2 separate regions of the Homo sapiens genome follow, and region 1 is linked to region 2. The links are contacts of gene promoters, found by promoter capture Hi-C in human tissues and cell types (Jung and others, 2019). All regions are on one chromosome and are shown on one strand. Each heading gives the region's core, a stretch centred on a gene start or on the middle of the fragment in contact. The rest is flanking DNA. Distances are from core to core; before and after follow the strand shown. Region 1 overlaps DYM (dymeclin). Region 2 holds the start of SMAD2 (SMAD family member 2).

Region 1 (2,700 bases), core at 4-2,503, 1.5 Mb after region 2:
GAGTTCAAGACCAGCCTGGGTAACAGAGCAAGACCCCATCTCTAAAAAGGTAGAAGAAAAAAAAAGAAAGAAGCCAGTCACAAAAGACCACCTATTGTTACAATTTCATTTACATGAAACGTCTAGAAGAGGCAAAGTTAGTAGTAGTTATTAAATTAGTGGCTGGACGCAGTGTCTCACGCCTGTAATCCCAGCACTTTGGGAGGCTGAGGAAGGTGAATCACTTGAGGTCAGGGGTTCGAGACCAGCCTGGCCAACATGGTGACATCTCATCTCCACAAAAAATACAAAAATTAGCCATGCATGAAGGCATGCAACCGTTAAGCCCAGTTACTCGGGAGGCTGAGGCCGAAGAATTGCTTGAATCCAGGAGGCAGAGTTTGCAGTGAGCAGAGATCGCGCCACTGAACTCTAGCAGACTGAGACTCCCTCTCAAAAAATAAATAAATAAATAAGTGGTTGCTAGTGCAATCTAGAGTTTGGGGGAGTGTCTGCTAATGGGCATGGGATAGGGCATGGGATGGTTCCTTTCTGGGATGATAATGTTCTAAAATTGGTGATTGTTACACAATTCTGTGAATAAAAACACTGAATAATACACTTTAAATGGGTGAATTACATGATATATGAAACATATCTCAAAAAGTGTATTATTTTTCTATTGCTACTACAAAAGTTATCAAAATTTAGTGGTGTGAACAACATAAATTTATTATCTTACAGTTCTGTAGGTCAGAAGTCTGACACTCAATGAGCTAAGATCAGGATGTCAATAAGGCTGCATCCCTTTCCAAAGGCTCTAGAGGGAAATCTGCATCCTTGCCTCTGCCAGCTTCTAGAAGCTGCTCATATTTCTTGCTCATGACCTCCCTACCATCTTCAAAGCCAGCAAGGGCAGGCTGAGTCCTCCTCACATCACATCTGACTTTCTCTTCTACCTCCCTCTTCCACTTTCAAGAAGCCTTGTGATTACTTTGGGCCTGCCCAGATAATCCAAGATAATCTCCCTGTTTTAAGGTCAGCTGATTAGTAACCTTAATGCCTTTTGCTACTTTAATTCCCCTTTGCCATGTAATGTAACATATTCAGATTCTGCAGACAAGGACATGGACATCTTTGGGGGGCTACTATTCTGCCTATCATAATAAAGCTCTTAAAAAGTAAATAAAAAATTTTTAAATCTAGTTATTGAGTGTATGGGAATTCAATATTCTATTCATTCTTCATTATTATTGTCTGACAGTTTTTGTAATAGAATTAAATATGAGATATTATTTTTCACCTCTGAAACTGGCAGAGGTCAAAGGTCTAAAATGCATCAAACTGACAAAGATATGGGGAAACACACCTCTCATGCATTGCTGGTAGGTATGCAAATTGCTACAACTTCCATGGTGCACAATTTGGCATAGCTACCAAATTGCAAATGCACATACACTTTGACCCAGCAATTCTACTTCAAGGAATTTATACTAAAGATATATTGTGTGTATGAAAAATGATGTATGCGGCAGTAACTGTTACAACAAAGACTGGAAACAATCTAAATGTTCATCAACAGAAAAACCAATTAAATATATTCTACAGATACTCCACAGCCATTAAAAAGAATAAGGAAGTTGCAAATGTGCTACATATACAAGATATATTTTACTTAACTGTGGAAAAAAAGGCAAGGGACAGAACAGTACGTGTAGTATGCTACCATTTGTATTTAAACAATTTTGTGAAACTATATGGGATATATGCTTAAGTAACCTATATTATCTCTAGAACGATTCAAAATAAACTGCTACCAGTGATAACCTCTAGAGAAGGGAGGTGGCTACTGAGTTGGGTAAAAAGAAAAGCTTATTTTCTACTTTCAAATCTTTTGGATTTTCTACTGATCTATGTATGACAGATAGACTAGATAGATAGACAGAACATTTCTAAATTTTTTTTTAATCAGCATACCACACAAGTTGATATGGCCCTCTATTCAAATTTTCAATCTCCAGGCAATCTCTTACCTGCTAGTTGGTGCAGGGAAAGAAAATGAGAGAAGCTGATTCCAGAACGGGTCATTCTCAGAGATAGATTCCGTGCCTGATAACTTTTTCAAGTACTCATTTTTAGGAAGATCGCCGATTCTGCTGCTATTCGATCCCATCTTCTAGCTTAAGCAGATAATTTGTCCTTAAACCTGCATTTCCAAAAGACAACCTATAAAAAATAAAAATAAAAACTTTAAACTTGTTCAAAAGTCATCATGCTTTGTCTACCTATAAAAAAACTATAAACTTACTAAAGAAAATCACACATTTCTGTATTTATAAATATATTAGACATCAGATACAAAGTTACAAGAAATATGGGGCTAGGCCAGGCATGGTGACTCACGCCTGTAATCCCAACACTTTGGGAGGCTGAGGCGGGCAGATCATGAGGTCAAGAGATTGAGACCATCCTGGCCAACACGGTGAAACCCCGTCTCTACTAAAAATACAAAACTTAGCTGGGCGTGGTGGCACGCACCCGTAGTCCCAGCTACTCAAGAGGCTGAGGCAAGAGAATCACATGAACCCAGGAGGCAGAAGTTGCAGTGGGCCAAGATCGCGCCACTGCACTCCAGCCTGGCGACAGAGCAAGACTCCATCTCAAAAAAAAAAAAAAAAGAAATATGGAGCTAACACCTGTCTTAGCCAATACAAACACAAA
Region 2 (2,700 bases), core at 158-2,657:
GGGTGTTAAAGTAGAATAGCAAATTTTCAGCATAATAAGAGCAAATTTATTACTAGGCTCAAGGAAAACATCCTATCAGCGATTCATTCATACGAAACTATCAGGTTCAATTCATATGAAGTCAGAAGAGAGAAAAAGAATTTTGGAAATTAAATCACATTTCAAAGACCATTTCTAAAAAGATGTAATTATTCCAAGTTATTTATTTATTAACAATTATTTTACACATGTCGTTTTAAAAGTTTCACAAACCCAAATTTAAGATAGTCCAAATTGCAACAAACAAGACATGACTTTGATGGAAAATGCTGCTTGCAAATTCGTTTTACCTGGAAATTTCTTTTTTAAAGGTATGGTTGACAACACACTGGTGGTATTTTGCTTTTAAAGGGTCAAGAGAAAGGAATAACAAAACCAACCCAGGCATTCTTTTTCTGTTTAGGATCAAAAGGACATTTTAAGGATAAGTAAAAGACAAAAGTACCTGACCCAAAGACAATATCCCCCTCCAAGAGAACAAAGTAAGTTGCAATTTTAAAAACCAAGTTTGAAATACGAGAAATCACTTCGAGGGCTTTCCAAAGGCGTGTGATAAAAACTAATAGGCTCCACCCGCAGAACAACTTTCACAAGTGAGTGAAGGATGATCACAGAGTTATCAGCTGTGTGCGTGTTTGTGAGTACACACAAGCCATGGAAAACCCGAGACTACCACTGTTAACAAAGGTTACGAGACCAAAAAAAAAAAGTGGAGGCAAAGTATTACGCGTCCCTAACAAGGCTTCCCCACAACTCCTGAAACAAGAGCTCTGGCCCTTCGGCTTTAAAAATCAGAACCACAAACTATGGAGTGTGAGAGCAGCGAGGGGAAGGGACGCAGGCAGCCCCCGCCCCCGTCAGCCTGGGCGGCAGCGCAGTGCAACCGAGCCCCGTCCCTTCCCGGCTCTCCGGCCCCGAACCCGCACGCCCGGGCCGGCGCACCCACAGCCCCCGAACTCACCACACCCCAGCCCCCACCCGCAGCGGCCATGTGACACGGCCCATCGCCCCGGCCGCGGACGCACGCAAACACTTCCCTAGCTGGAGGCCCGCGGGCGCCCAGGCTTTACCTGCAAGGTGGCGCCAGGTCCCGCCCCGTCAGATCCGGGGGGTCCGGGACCTTTTGTTCCTTCCTCTTCCGATGGGATGGAGGGGGCTGGGAGGGGAAGAGGGGAATGGGCGATTGGAGGCGGAACTGAAAACACTCCCGGCCGCCGTCTTCCCGCCCCGCCCCCAGGCCCGGGCCCGGCCGGCGGCCCGGGCGCGCGGGAGGGTAGGGGAAGAGAGGGGAGGGGAGGGGAGGAGAGGGAAGGGGAGGGGAGGGAGCCTGGCCGCCGCCCGCGGGGAAGGAGGGGGTGAGGACGCGCGCGCCCGCGCTGCCCCTCCTCCCCTCAGGCGCGCGCCCGCAGCCCTACCGGCCGCCCGCACGGCCGCGCCCTCCCCCGCCAGCCCACCTCCGCTTCCGCCCTCCGCCCTCGGCCGCCGGCCGCCGCGGCGCCACGCACCCACCTCCCGGCGGCTGGCGGGCTGCTGGCTGGCGAGCTGCTTCTCCGCCGCCGCGGCCGCGCGGGTAGACCCGCCTGCCACCCTGGGCCGCGGGCCCCGCCGATTCGCCGGCGCAGCCCCGGGGCTGGCACCCTGCCGCCCGCTGATTGGCGCCTCCAGCCGCCCGTTAGGGCGCGAGGCACGCCGGCCGAAAGCCGCGCGGGGCGGGTATGGAAGACGGAGGGAGCGGAGGAGGAAAGGAACGAGGCCGAGCACCGCGGGAAGGGCCGGGGGGCGAGCGGGGCGCGGGGAGTCGCCGGCCACCGCCTCCCCACCTCCCTTTGCCTACGGCCCGCCCCGCCTCCCGGCCGGACCGGCGGCGCCCGCAGCCAATCAGCACGAGGGAAGCTCGGGGTGTGAGCCGCGCATCGGGGGCCTCGAATCGGAAGGGAGACGTCGCTCGCTGATTGGTCCCGCCTCCCCAGTCTAGCGTGAGGCGAGGCGGGGCGCGGCCGGGCGGGGCGGGACGCCCGCGGTTTCGCTTGAGTTGGGCGCCGGCGCGCTCCCACCGGGGCTCACGGGCGGAGAGGGAGAGGCCCGCGCCTTGCCGCGCATTAAGACGATTCCCGGTGACCGCCCGATCCCTCGCCAGCGTCGTGGGTGGGGCCTGTAGGGGCCTGCCGCCTCGTCCACCGTCCGTCGTGAGGCCGGCAGCGGACACGTGCTCATCCCACGGGGAGGCCCCGCGCAGCGCGGAGGACGCGCCTGAGAGAGAAAAGGGGTTCGGGAGAAGCCCGAGGACCCGGCCCGTGACTGGGCGCGCCCTATGCAAATGAGCGGGCGGGGCCCTCGTGTTGCTGAACGAGGGCGGGTTCGCGATGTAAATAAGCCCAGAGGTGGGGTCTTTGGAGAGCACTTAGGGCCCGGGTAGGGGATGCCAGGTATAAGTGTTTAACCTAAATTTTGGTTCCGTCTTCAGTAAAAATGATATCAATAATCCATGTCCCGAAGGGTCTTTGTGAAGTCTAAAAGAAACATCTGTCACGATGTCCCTTAATGGCTGGGATATCTTCCCTTCCCCTTTTCTCCACTGTTGCGACGATTAGGCCCCAACTTGCACATCTGCCCTACAGGAGGCAGCAAGGCCCTAAACTTACGGCTGCCCAGAACATAACT

Evidence for each region. The method cuts DNA at HindIII sites, captures the fragments that hold promoters and counts their contacts. A contact is called where the count stands out against the background at its distance.
Region 1: a contact is called between a fragment that was not itself captured here and the fragment with the promoter of SMAD2 in region 2, in 1 of the 25 tissues and cell types used here (hippocampus).

Annotation. Positions count from the first base shown.
Region 1 is chr18:49,428,243-49,430,942 of GRCh38, forward strand. It overlaps DYM (dymeclin), which reads right to left. Exons shown (of 18, transcript NM_001353214.3): 2 at 2,013-2,205. The coding sequence starts at 2,152. Among named protein-coding and RNA genes, the nearest start is that of DYM, 31 kb to the right of the region's middle. The HindIII fragment of the contact is 7,598 bases long and covers 1-2,700 here.
Region 2 is chr18:47,929,252-47,931,951 of GRCh38, forward strand. It overlaps SMAD2 (SMAD family member 2), which reads right to left and starts at 1,408. Exons shown (of 11, transcript NM_005901.6): 1 at 1,110-1,408. RefSeq lists silencers at 837-1,366, 1,397-2,326. The HindIII fragment of the contact is 9,095 bases long and covers 1-2,700 here.